2 separate regions of the Homo sapiens genome follow, and region 2 is linked to region 1. The links are contacts of gene promoters, found by promoter capture Hi-C in blood cells and fetal thymus (Javierre and others, 2016). All regions are on one chromosome and are shown on one strand. Each heading gives the region's core, a stretch centred on a gene start or on the middle of the fragment in contact. The rest is flanking DNA. Distances are from core to core; before and after follow the strand shown.

Evidence for each region. Contacts are between HindIII fragments. The CHiCAGO score rates a contact against its expected background, and 5 or more counts as called.
Region 2: a fragment that was not itself captured here is called in contact with the fragment with the promoter of G3BP1 in region 1 in 1 of 17 cell types (fetal thymus); the score reaches 5.1 in fetal thymus.

The regions. Positions count from the first base shown.
Region 1 is chr5:151,770,140-151,776,885 of GRCh38, forward strand. It overlaps G3BP1 (G3BP stress granule assembly factor 1), which reads left to right and starts at 1,815. Exons shown (of 12, transcript NM_005754.3): 1 at 1,815-1,897. It overlaps LOC100652758 (a long non-coding RNA gene), which reads right to left and starts at 2,037. Exons shown (of 2, transcript NR_132345.1): 1 at 1,564-2,037; 2 at 1-633. RefSeq lists enhancers at 1-623, 1,002-1,231, 1,489-1,783 and silencers at 1,992-2,321, 2,372-2,441. The HindIII fragment of the contact is 14,997 bases long and covers 1-3,720 here.
Region 2 is chr5:149,727,501-149,734,559 of GRCh38, forward strand. PPARGC1B (PPARG coactivator 1 beta) reads left to right here and starts at 2,810. Exons shown (of 12, transcript NM_133263.4): 1 at 2,810-2,920. The coding sequence starts at 2,843. It overlaps MIR378A (microRNA 378a), which reads left to right and starts at 5,325; the gene lies at 5,325-5,390. RefSeq lists enhancers at 2,409-3,059, 3,298-3,417, 3,428-3,477 and silencers at 2,468-3,147, 3,948-4,047, 4,058-4,107, 4,128-4,217, 4,248-4,477. The HindIII fragment of the contact is 820 bases long and covers 1,132-1,951 here.

The sequences.
Region 1 (6,746 bases), core at 565-3,064:
CAAAAAGATCTGTATCACTTAAAACTCCCTCCAAAAGTGAAGGGTAGCCATGTCCCTCATCGCGAGTCACCTGGGTTAAATTACTAATCTGTAAATGTTAAATTTCGCCAATCTTCTTAGTGTTTCAATTCGGAGAGTCATGTTGTGAAATGCCAATCTCTTAGTCCACCTTTTAAAAAACTTTGCAGGGGTTCTCCAAGGCCCTCAGAATAAAGTCCAGATTCCTTTGCAGAGCTAACAGGATACAGGAGACTCCCTGCTCCAGGAAACTTCTAGGGGCTTCTCTCCTGGGGCCTGTTCCCTGGTTTTGGGAGCGCTCGGGCGACCGCGAGCCAGAGCAGCGTCTCGCTCATCTCGGACCCAGGCCTGGGGCTCCACTGACGCCGACGGAGCCGGGCTGCTGCGGGAGTGGAGCCCTGGGGGACCAGAAGGGGCTTTCACTTCGCTCCTGGGCCTCCCGAGTTCCAGGCTCGGGCTAGCCCCGCGCAGGGAGGCGAGCGGGCCCGGCTCCCCAGAGGCCGAGGCCGGCGCCCGTGCTCCTTCAGCTCGGCCTCTCTCCCCCGACATAGGCGCTCCACATGCTTCATTTCCAAAATTCTCAGCAAAACTCCGCGGGAGACCCTGGTCACATGCCTGGAACGAGAACAAACCGGGGCGTGTCTGTGCCGGACGGCTGGGAACCAAAGCTATTTCCATAGAAATAGGGCCGGCCAGCCTTGAGTTGTAGCCCCGCCAGTGCCTGAAACGCCAGGAGGAGGGGACGAGTTGCCTTTTAAAGGCGTAGCGACGAGAATAAGCCCCCACCCGCGGCAATTCGAGGCTGAACAATAGTGGTGCAGCTCGGGACGTGGTGCGAGGGCCCACACTCCACTGGAGCACGCGCGGACCACCGTGCCTCAGCTGCCACAAAGGGAGCCTCGCCACACGCCCGCGGCCGCCTCGCAGCGCCCGCCAAGAAGCGCCTGGCGGAAGGGCGCACTCTCAGGCCTTCCACCGGCGACCTTCCGGCGGGAGCCTGCGGGCGGCGCAGGAACGACCCTCCTTCCTCTGCCCCGCAGCAGTGCTGAGTAATGGTGAGAGCAGCAAGGCCCTTGGCCGCCGCACGTAAGAAAAAAGTTGTAATAAAAAGAAAACAACCCGGGAAACTTTACTAGTTGGTTCGCCAGGTACAAACCTATGCGGAAAAGGCGGGGTACAGGCCTCGGAGGCCGGACCCAACCAGTCAGGGAAAGAAAGAGGGCAGAAGCCGCAGGCTGCACAGCCTCACAACCGCCCAGAGGGCACGGCGGCCCTGGGGCTCGGTCTCTTCCGAGCAGAGCAACCTCCGTGTCTATCAGCTCCTTCCGGCGTTGCGATTGGCCACAGGCTGTCTTGGCCTCTCGGACGCCCGCCTCCTAGTTGCTAGGGGTTTACTTCCCCAAAGTACACGGGCCCCACCTTGTGGCGCAACCGCTCCTGCATGGAAAACGGATCTCCGCCCAGGGGAAGACGTGTTAACGAATAAGAGCAGCCCCACACATTTATTGGCTACTTTGAGTATCAGTCAAAGAACTGCTCACTCGCCTTTCTATTGTACTTTTCGGTTATTGGTCTCTCTTAGTGCCGATCTGTTACTAGGGAAACGAGATCCTCACAGTCTCATAGGCAGGAGTCAAAGCCAATCAAGAGCCACGCCTTCATCCCCGAGTCAGTGCCCAATTACTGTTCGAAGAGCCCTGAGGACGCGGTCGGGATTGGTCATCCCGTCGCCCGACCTGGCCGCAACAAGTTAGGGTGAGTGGCAGTTATATAGACCGGCGGCGGAGCACGCGTGTGTGCGGACGCAGTTGCGTGAGGGGTTTGTACTATCCTCGGTGCTGTGGTGCAGAGCTAGTTCCTCTCCAGCTCAGCCGCGTAGGTACGCCGGGGTGTGGGCGGGGCAGGGAGGCCAGAGGACTAAGCCGAGCCGCAGCACTTGTGAGAGGGAGAAGTCTGAGTGGCGCTCGCGGCGGCCGCGCCAGTCGCGTCCCCCACCCCAACCCCCACCCCAACGGCCGCAGGCGCGCGCGGCGGACGGACGGGCGCGCGGCGGCTCCTCGCTCCCGCTCCCGTCCCGGCTGGGGCGCGTGGCCGTGTCCGCCGCGTGCGCGTGCTGCGTCCAACGGCCTCGCGGGGCAGGAGTAAGCCGCGGCCGCCGCCTGGGCCCCAGGGCGGTCTCTGGGGCCAGGGGTCCCGCGCCCAGCGTTTCCCGCCCGCCACCCTCTCCGCCACGCGCCCGCGGCACCTTTTCCTCCCCTGGCCAAGGGATCCAGTCGGTTCGGACCAGAAGGAGGCTTTCGTTTAGGGTGGGGGCAGCACTAAAGTCTGATTGGAGTCTTGCGGTCCGCGCGTCGCAGAAGCGCCTTCGGTTTTGCAGAGAGCAAAGAGGGAGCAGCGAGTGCACGGAGTGGTAGTAACAACCAATGTTCTTTCCACGCCCTCACTGTGTGTCCGGCACTGTGCGGAGCCACTTTTCTGCCTTTCATTTGATTCTTGCAGTGAGCTGGCGAGGTGGGTACGGCTATCCTCCTTCCTTAGCGGCCCAAGGCACGGGTTTGGAGAGCGGGGTCACAGGCACGCACGGGAAGGGCGGGGATTTGTTGACGCCGGGCCCTCTGACTCCGAGCTCCCCGCTTCCCAAGCCTGTTTTTAGTCTTTGCCCCCAGAGCACTTGTCCCTCGGGGCAGCATCAGCCTCAAAAGGCCACCTGCCGAGAAGGCTGCAGCGGCATTTGTACTTGGGCTAGTTCTGGGCTTCCAGGGAGACAAGGGTTGGAAGTGGGAATGTGACAAAGGAAAAGGGTTTGGGCTTCCTTTCTACGTGTACTTGTACAGGCCCTGGGTAGATGTGCCGCCACCGTAGCTTCTGGAAAAAAGTAGGGAAAACGATGAGTAAGTGCAAATGAACATGGACTGTGTTCCTCATCGGGTTTGAATCTCAGATTGCTGATGGGAAATTCCCGCCAGCGGGAAGTTAGGCTCCGGTTTTAGACGTTGAATTTTTTTTTCTCTACTTTTTTTTTAATTGGAGGAGACTTTTGCAGAAAGACCTTGAGAAGATTCACTTTATAGTTGAAGGGAATGAGGTGCAAAGCGACGAATTTAAGATCTCACTAGCATCTGTGGGTTAAAATACGGAATTGGAATAGAAAGGTTGGCGCCCAGTTACAGTATACTATTTGGACCTCTGTGGAGCGTGTCATGCTGGATGAATTACTGGTGTTGGAGATGTGTTGGAAAAAACAACTGTGACAGTCGAGATCTGTGGATGAAAGTTTGTGTACACTCCGTTTATTTAGCATTTACTCTGCTGGGTTCTTGTGTATATGCAGAAACAAGATGCTTTTCTTCAGGGACTGGAGCTTATATTTTTCTAGTAGTTACCATCTTTTAGATTATTTAAAAGCCAACATACTCCTTGGCTTAGTGAAATAAATCTTCTATGTTATAGAAACACTTCTATAAACATAAAGATTTCTATAATCGTGTTCTGGAAACCCTTTCTATAAACATGTTTCTATAACAGTATTATAATAATGTTCCAAGTAACATTTACTTGGAACTTTGCTGGTGTGGCGATTCCGGTTACTTGCCCTTACAGACTGGTTAACTATGGAATTAGCATTTTAACTTAGACTTAAAGTTGAGCAATTTAAGTTGTCAAATGGAAAAACACTAGAATGACCTACATTTAAACTGTTTAAGCTTGAGTCCAGCTAATTTTATTACTGCTTGAGGCAAAATAGAATGAAATTACCTTACACATTATTGAGGGAAAATTTCGTTAGTTTCTACTTAAAATATTAAAAAAATACAGTTCTTGGCCTCAGGCAAATGGTTATCACTTGGGCAGGAACATGAAAATTACGTGATTATTTCACAAACTGGTGCTCTAACTGATTACTTGTGCATTTATCAGGAACAAGTGAATTGAAGCAAATTGTGGTAATGTAAGGCTTGGCAAGGCTGCCCTACATCCCTACCAAGTCATACGTCAGTTTTGTTGGAGCTGCTTACCGGTACAAAAGTCTAAGCTTTTGTACCTCTTACAGGTAGAAAAGTAGACAGTTCTTTGTTTAACTCAGTTTGCTGTTCCTGAGCTGACACTGCACCAGGGGAACATTAGGAGATTTTGGTAATGTTTGTTTGTGACCTACTTAGAGCAGTTTTTCTTTTGTAACTTATGGTTTTTTTTTTTCCCACTCGTTCTAGTATTTTGCATAGAAAGTGAACGGCAGAAGGCAGTTTTAAGTTTTTGTAAAAGTTTGTGAATTTTATATCGTCCTTAGGACTGATGGGGCTAGTGTTAAAAGATAAAATTTAACATAAAGCTTACATTTGTGACTAAAGCCAATTTTATATTTTTTTTCTTTATTTTTGTCAGTCTGATAAAACTGCCCACTTGGTCTTTTAACATTTTGCAAATTGATTTTTTTTTTAACTTTCAGAATTTAAATAGGCATTGTATGTTTGTTTAATTATATTGTGCTTTGGCTTCCTTGGACGAAACTATTACTGACTTTACAAAGAAGAATGGATAATTGTGGAAGTAGGTAGGTCAAAAAAAAAAAGGAAAGCCTCGCCCGCCCCCCAGTAATTTGTCAAAAGCAAGTGGGAAAAATCTCTGGTAGTGCAGTACTGCCCTTCCAGTACTCCAGTACAAGCCCTGGAGTTGAATTTAGATTCAGCAACTATTATCTTACATGTAGTTGGTGATCACAATGTGGTGGCACACTAGGTTTATAATTTTATATCTCAGAAATCAGCTATTTACTTTTTTTAAAAAAGTATTCTTGGACATCCTGTCTGTCTTTAGTTGGGAAGGTCAAGTTGCAAGCCAGGTGATAGGGTTAAGAGTAGGAATAATTCACACACACGAATAGTGTCTTAATATTCTGTCTTACAAGGTGGAAAGCAATTTCAAAAAAATTGCCCTCACAGCCTGTAGCTTAGTAAATAAGGTCTTTAGGCGACTTTGTGATAGAGTCCCTCTTCTGTCAGGTGGCCAGTCTGTCATGTAATAAGTTCTTGGTATGTGTGTTGTATCTTAGGTACTTAATCAAAAGTAAAGATTAAAGATGATTGACAGAAATTTGGCTTCCTGGATGGTATACACATCTACTTAGTAGGGATGTAATCTTTGGTGGCTATTAACTTCACTGGCTATATAAAGCATCATTATGTATTTGTGTAACCTTTTGCATATTTAGAGAGTGCTTTCACACATCTTTGGTATTACCATACTTTTACTAAAAAGTGAATTGGAGCTCTGAAACCGAATTGTCAAAACTATTTTGAAAAGCATGTGGTACCTAATAGGGTACTATAGCCAGCTTATTTCCTTAATTGAAAAATCTTAGAGGGATTTTGAATCTGGAATGTATGAATGTGACACCTGCCTGCCCTTGCAGGCTTCTCCCATATGCTGTTTATGCAAAGCCATAGGCTGTGCCTTAAGTACACCCTTGTTTCTGCACTGAGGTTGCCTAGATTTCCCTGGAGTGTATCCACCTGTCTTGATCTGTTTAAGAATTTTGCGGATGAGCATTAGTATTAACTGTAACATATCTTTTCACGTGATGAGAAAGAACAAAGATTTTTTTAAATTGTGAACCTGAGTAGGTTTTAACTTTGGAGTGGGGAAGGGATACACTAAGATAAAAGATAGTTGTTAAGTATTCTGATTCCTGAAGTTTTTTTTCTTTCAGGAAAACAGTATTTTTGAGATAAAGTAAGATTTGTGGAAGAGTTGCAATAGAGAGGTCTTGAATACCCATTATCCACTGTTAACATCTTATGTAATCCAAGTACATTTAACAGAACTGAGAAATTAACATCGATAAAATACTGTTAATGAAAGACTTTATTTGGATTTCCTTAGTTTTTCTACTAATGTCCTTTTTCTGTTCTAGGATCCAGTCCAAGATGCCACATTGTATGTAGTCTCCTGATCTGTGTCAGTTTCTGTCTTTCCTTTTGTCTTTCGTGACCATGACACTTGATCTCATTTGGATTTGATGTTAAGGATTAGACTGAAGTTACAGATTTTTGGGGGAAGAATACCACAGAAATTACCCTTATCACATCAGATTGGGGGTCCATAATATATAACTGGTTGAATTTAACCTGATGATTTGGTTCAGGTGGTATCTGTCAGGTTAGTGTTTTTTTCCCCTTTAGATACTATTCCTTAGATGCTAGTCACCAAGTCCAGCTCACACTCAAGGAGAGAGGGGAATTAGGCTCTACTTTCTAGAGGGAGGAGAATGTGAATTTGTGGAAGTATATTAAAGCTACTGTTATTATTTTGGGGGAGATGCTTCGAAGCCATGGAAATAAAGTTCCCCTCCTTAATTTTAGCATTTTAATGGATCTCGTCTGCAGCTATTATTACTTCGGGGTTCTAATGGTGATTTTTTTTATTTTCCTCATTCCTTCTACAGTATAAATTTTCTGTGAGGAAGATTTGTGTATTCTTCATGTTTTTTCTTTTTTTCATTTATATCACTATAGACCACGGATATTAATTTTATTCTTTGGGTTGTAATCCACAATTATCCTTGCTGATGTTTACTTATTTTTGATTATTATTTATTTTATATTTTTATAAAATATCGTCCAGGCTGTCTCACACTCCTGGGCTCAAGCAATCCTCTTGTCTTGGCCTCTCAAAGTGCTGGGATTACAGGTGTGAGCCACTGTGCTGGCCACAGTTTATTTTGTTGTTCA
Region 2 (7,059 bases), core at 292-2,791, 2.0 Mb before region 1:
TGGCTTTGGGGACACTCCCAAGTTTGGCCTCTGGGCTATGAAGGACACACCACCAGTCAGGGGCCAGGCTGGGCCTGGAAGGGACATCTCCAGAAACCATCCCACAGGACTCTGACTCTGGTGCCCAGGGGAGTAGCAAAAAAAATGGGGTCTTGGGAGAATTCAAGTCCTTAGTGCTAATGGTGATGACATTGGTGATGTTGGTGATGATTATAGTGATGATGGGCATTTCCTACCTGCAAGATTCAGGGCCAGGCAACTGACTTTACATGAATTGCATTATTTCATTCAATCCATCCTCACAAGATCCCTATGTGGAGCAGTACCATTGCTATCCCCACTTTACAGATGAGGAAACTGAGGCTCAGAGAGGTTAAGTAAATGACCAAGGGCACATAGCTAGTTTGCACCAGGATTCAAATCTGAATATACTGGAGTCCAAAGTACGCCAGCAGCCTGTAAGTGCTGGAAAAAAGGCAAGTAACATTGGCTAGTGCCTTTAAGGGATATATATTTCTTATTCCCATTTTAACAGAAGGGAAACAGAACAGAGCGCTTAGCGTATTCTCCATGAGGTCAGGCACTGTGCCAAGCACTGTACATATATTATCTCCTCAATCATCAAAACATCCCTATGAAGTTGGTGGTTTTTTGGTCCCCATTTGTGTAGATGAGGAAACCGAGGCCCGAGACTAAATGACTTGCTGTGGTTCCAAATCAGGCAGTGTGACTCCAGGGCCCACGCTCTTCACCCCCTGAATTGCTGGATACTGGAACAAGATGTTCCAGTATCCAGATGCAGGGTCTGAAACAGAACCCAGGACTCCTAACTCCTAGTCTAGGGCTCTGAGGCTAGATGCAGGCTCTCTGTTGGAATGCATTGTTCCTTAAAAGCACACTGGCCTTAAGCCCAAAGAGTGAAATCACGGCCTGCGGTTCTGGGAACCTCAGACTGGAGAAGGAAGCTTTTGCCCTGGTGTTCAAGTCTCAGCAGGTGTGCTGGGGACTCTCCCTCTATTTCCTTCTCCCGCTGGAAGGGAGCCCTTGTTAGGTGGGCAGGGTGGGGCAGCCCTTATGAGTGTAGGGTGGGAGGAGGGCAGGAGGCAGGCGTGCCCAATAAAACAGACCTAAAGCTTCCCGCCTTCTTGCCTTCATCCAGGCAGTGCCCTCATCTCCTGTTTGGTAAACAACAGGGCATGATGATGAGAGTTCAAGGTTGGAGTCAGGAGGTCTGAGTTCTGGTTCTGGCTCAGGCAGTCACTCCATGTACACATTGACAGTCAGTTTCCTTATCTGTATAATGTGTGGTGGTGGTGGTGGCAGAGAATCAAAATTCTCCAGCTTTTTCAGTTAACACATCATCTATTAAGTGCCTACTATGTGCCAGAAACGGCAGATACAGCAAGTGCAAAAGCAGATTTAGGCCCTGCTTTCATGGTGTTAGAGTCTTGTAAGGAGAGATACAAAGATTAAGTCTTCATTGCAACAAATGTAAAACGGCAACTGTGACCAGCTTTTAGAGAAAAAAGGCCTGCTGGTGGAGCTAAGGGAGCCCATGATGGTGGAGGTGGAAGGAGAGGAAATGGCTTGACAGTCCAAGGGGTAATAGGGAAAGATGCCCCGAAGAGATTACTAGGTGAGTGGCAAGCCCGTTGTGAGCGGGCCTGCGGAGGCTGGCAGGAGCCCAGCCCCTTCATGCATTGTGGGCATTGGTAAGAGAACTCATTGGAGTTTTTTGGGGGAAGGGTGCTGGGGACGATGGCAGAGAGAGATATATGATCAGGTTTAGCACAGAATATAGGCAAACGCACCCTTCAAGTAAAAGATAAAAATGCCTCCTCCTCCAAGGAGACTTCCTTGATTTCTTTGCTTTTGATCTATGGTATTTCTCCCTCCTTCTCTGGCCTTGTAGCCTGGGTAGAGAAACAGTCCTCCAGGGGAGTAAGACCTAAGCTTTCCCTTCCTGCAACTGATGTGCGCTGTAGCTTTGAACGAGGTCCTAGGTATATACATACATACATACATACATACATACATACATACATATATATATACATACATATATATACACATACATATATATACATACATATATATACACATACATACATACATATATACACATACATACATACATACATATATATACACATACATACATATATATATATATATATATATATTTTTTTTTTTTTTTTTTTTTCAGGAGGGATATGAAGAGTGACTTACAGGCGCCCGCCACCATGCCTGGCTAATTTTTTTTGTATTTTCAGTAGAGACGGGGTTTCACCATGTTGGCCAGGCTGGTCTCAAACTCCTGACCTCAGGTGATCCACCCGCCTCGGCCTCCCAAAGTGCTGGGATTACAGGCGTGAGCCACTGCGCCCGGCCTTCGAACGAGGTCCTATTCCTTCTCGAGCCTCAGTTTCCCCAGCTGTGCAGAAGAAGCAGGTTGTCTCGCAGGACCCGCCCAGCGCTAACGCAACGTGATTCGCTCTGGCAGGAGCCGGGGGCTGCCCGCATTGCTGCGCAGGCATCGGGCTGCTGGCTGGGGCACCGCCACCTGGCTGCCTGCGCTTTACCCCTTGCTGAGGGCTGCGTGAGCTGGTCGCGGCGCCAGACACGGCGCAGGAAAGTGGGTGAGCGACCCCCGGCTCCCGCGGGCGCCGCGCGGCCCCGCCCCCGCAGCTAGCGGCCCTGCGGCAGCCGGGGGCTCGAGCTCCGCCCTCCGCCTCCCGCCGGCCTCACTCCCTCCTCCCTCCTCCCTTGCTCGCTCGCTGGCTCCCTCCCCCCGGGCCGGCTCGGCGTTGACTCCGCCGCACGCTGCAGCCGCGGCTGGAAGATGGCGGGGAACGACTGCGGCGCGCTGCTGGACGAAGAGCTCTCCTCCTTCTTCCTCAACTATCTCGCTGACACGCAGGTACGGCCGGCTGGGGCTGCGGGCCCGGGGCCAGGGGTGCTGAGCTGCGGGGGCCGCAGCTGCAGCCGCGGAGGCCGGGAGGCAGCGGTGGGAGCCCTGGGGTAACTGGGGGTTCCAGGCTGCAGAGCCCCCCTTCCAGGCGCCCTGCGATGCGCTCCGTTACCGGGGCAGGGAGCCGGAGGTCTCCCGGCGCGTGCCGGAGCGCTGGGGGCGCTACGGCCGCTGGGGAGGGTCTAGCCTTGGCCGCTTGGAGTCTGCCACCCCGCGGGCAAAACTGGGGGGTACCGCGCTTCCTTTGGGAGGTGGAGGCGCGCCACGGTGTGGGGTACCCTCAGGCTGGCGCTGGGTGCTGGAGGCGCGCCGTCAGCGCCCGGCACTTGCTGCCGTACTTTCACGTGGACTTGTGGCCCCGGCACGGGTGCATGCCCGGGTCTCCGGAGTCCCCTAGTCCTCCAGGCTGTAGTCCCCAGAGTGCTGTTGCTGGCCCCCCGCGGCTTTCTACCCGCGCCCGCAGCGCGGAGTTTCCTGCCAGTTGCCGGCTAAAGGCATAAGGGTCTGCGGGGCACGTGGACATGCGGGCGGAGACAGCGTCTTCCTGGTTTCGCTATCGGGCGGAGCCCCCTGGGGGGAAAAGCCAGGCTGGATGGGGGCGGAAGGACTGTCTGGGGGCGCCTGGGTCCCCCTGCGGTGCGCGGCCCCGGTGCGCGCTCCACGATGCAGGGGGAAGGGAAGGCGAGGCGGAGTCCCAGGCACTGGCTGAGCCCGGGAGCCCCACTGGCGACACGCGCGTGACAGGAGAGGGTGCTCTGGTGTGCCGGGGCGCGGGGGAGCGAGGAAGCTGGTGGCTTGGAGACTGGGAGAGGGGTGCTGCTGGGACAAGCAGCCACCAAAAATGTCAGCACGAGGCGTGCGCGGCCCCCACCCCTTCCCCCATTTTCCCCACCCAATGCCTGTTGCAAGCATAAAGTTTGGCTCCAGAGTTAGGGCTTTTTCTCTGGGCGCCCGGCTGCGGGTCATTGGGAAGCTGAGGATGCGGCGGAACCTCGGAGGAGCCCCGGGTGCTGGCACACGCCTGGGCACGGAGAGGGGCGGCCGGGCGGAACCGGGCGCGGCTCGCGGGGGCTGGTTTGGTACCTGGAGTGGGAGCGCCGGTGCCGGCCCGTTTTGCATAACAGTGGAAGGGAGGGGGAAGGCGGAGATTGGGGGAGGGAGGTGGGAGGAGAGAGAGGGAAACTTTGCTTCTTGTTATAATCTGCCTGTCTTTGGGCGGCAGCAGCTGTCATGGGACCGGGTGGGCGGGGAGAGGCTTGCAAGCTGACTCCTTGCGGTGAAACGCGACTTGGAAGGGACGCCGCAGCCGAGACGTTCAGCTCCGGGCAGCGACTTCGGGCTGGCGGCTGGGACGGCGTGGCGTGGCAGGGTGTCGCCGAGAGGAAGCCCGCCACGCGGGAGGCAGGCCGCCCCTGGCCCGCTGCAGACGCCGCTGCGTAGGGGAGCCGCGGGGCCGCGTGGTCGGTGGCGGGCGCGCTCGGGTGGGTTCGCGGCAGAGGCCGGAGGGGCTAGTGGCGTGTGATTGCGCTTCTCGAGATCGAGGGGAATGTGTGATGAGCGGGTTGCGCGCGCGGGTGTGTGTGTGTGTGTGTGTGTGTGTGTGTGTGCACACGCCGCGCGCGCCGGGCGCGTACCTTTACCTCTGACGAAACTGCGGTGGAGCTCCCGCCGTCGTCGCCGGGCTCCGTCACACGCCCCGCGCCGGTGTCTGCGCCGAAGGCAGGTCCCAGCCTCAGTACCCCCAGAGCCGACAGCTTGGGGCTAGCGGGCACTGAGTGCGGGAGGAGGGGCAGAGTCACTCCTGGGAAGATTCTGTCCCCAGATCTCGAAATTGCCCTGGGGCGTCTCCGAATCTCTTGGCTGAAAAGCGGATGAGAGAGGCCTGAAATAGCCGGAGACTCGTTCAGGGACCCATGTCAAGAACTGTCCGCTTTGGACTGTACCCCGGATTTTAACTCGATCTTCAGTGTTTGGCTCAGCAATAATTAATTATTTTGCCCTTTAGCCGCCCAGCGAGCCTAGCTAGCAGAAATATTTCAACTAAGGAAACTAGAAAATTGAATACTCAGGTGTTTGCAGGAGCAGTGCAGTGAAAGTTAATCTGGGACATTTGCTTTTTTTATTTAACCACATGACAGGCCGAGGATCTTCTGGTGATCTTTGCCGGCCCAACTTGGGAAATGTAATTGATAGGATGAGCTTTGAGCCGCCCCTAGAAGGCTCGGAGAGCCCAGCCGGAAGAGGACCTGGGCGGGCCCAGTGTGCTCCTCCTTATTTTACAGCTGGAGAAAGAGGCTGCGAGGAGTGAGCGGCTTGTATGGGACCATGCAGCCAGAGGGTGACAGAGCCACCCAGGGCTCCTGACTCCAGGTCCTGTGTGTTACCTAGAAATAGCACTGGACTTGGAGTCAGAAGGCCTGAGTGGAGTCACCTTCCCCACTCTCTGGCTGGGTGACCCCGGAGCAAGCCATTTGAACTCTCCGAGCCTCATTTCCTCCATCTGTCAAATGGGGCTGGTGGTGCCGCAAGAGAATCCAATGGCCTGGTGGTGGGGGTGAGCAGTGTTTGCATGTGAGATGTTCTGGTTGTTCCTGCAACCCCCTCTCCTCCCCCAAACTTTCCCTGACCCTCCCCTCCTTCATCTCCCTTTGGGAGCTTTGGGGAAAGTGGATTAAATGGTAATTCATTGTCTTTGTCCCAAAAGATTGTTGTTGTCTTTGGTGGCTAATCCAGGGTTAGATTAGAGGGAGGACTTCTGTTTAGGAGACTTAACTTTTACCCATTGGGGCCAAAGTACGGAAATTTAGCAGAACAAGGATTGCGAAAGTTTCTTGGAAAGCTTTGAGGCATGGATCCCAAAGGACTGTGGGTGGCTTCACCTTTGTTCAGGCTATGCCCCTGGCCCAGAGTACCCTCACTCACCCGTCCTGCATGGCCTTCTCCTCTACTAGGCTCTCCCAGCCCAGCTTGCCCTGCTTTCTCTCCTTTGGTTTTCTGCATCTGTGTGATACAACCAAGCACTTTGTGTGAGTCTGGTGTCCAGTAAGATTCTAGCACTAGGGTTGTACCTTTTATCATTGTGCCTGCAAGGCACCTGTCAGTATGCTGAGCTGTGTTCCTTTGCTTAGCTCTTGGCTAGGCACATGGATTACAGACAGGGGTGCAGCTGGGTCCTGCCAAGCAGAAGCTCCCAGGCTAGCAGGGGAGACAGCTGGGCAGCGAGTGTGGGAGAGAGGAATGCAGAGGGCTGCAGCTGTGGGCAAAATTTTAGACCCCAAAGGCCACACAGCAAGTCCACACTAAATATGGGCTATTTGAAGTTGCTTAGGGCATCAGTCATAGATGCACAAAATGTCAGAGTTGGCAGCGGGAATGTTAGAAATCATCAGTTCTAACAACTTATTTAAAAATATTTAATTATAGAATTGTTAGAAAATACTGCCAAGCATAAAGAAAAAAATGAGAAATATGTAACATGACCCAAAGATAACCACTTAATTGTCATGTATATTCCAGACTGTTTATTTCCTGTTCATATAGATCACATCTTATTTTTAAAAAATGGAGTCGCCGGGCACGGTGGCTCACCCCTGTAATCCTAGCACTTTGGGAGGCCGAGGCGGGTGAATCACCTGAGGTCAGGAGTTCCGGACCAGCCTGGCCAACATGGTGAAATCCTGTCTCTACTAAAAATACAAAAATTAGCTGGGCGTGGTGACACACACCTGTAATCCCAGCTACTTGGGAGGCTGAGGCAGGAGAATCGCTTGAACCCGGGAGGCGGAGGTTGCAGTGAGCCGAGATCGCGCCACTTCACTCTAGCCTGGACAAAAGAGCGAAACTCATTCTCAAAAAAAAAAAAAAAAAAAAAAAAGGAGTTATCCTGAATATACTGATTTGTAACTTGGAATTGCACTGTTCTGTAACTTGTTTTTTTTTTTCCTCTTCCAAACAATATGCTGTGAACATCTTTCCACATCAGTAAATATTCTACTTAGTATCTTAATGATTATATAATGTTTTGTTGAAGATTGAACCGAGATGTATTTAATTAATCCTTTATCGTTACTCATTTACGTTGTTTAATT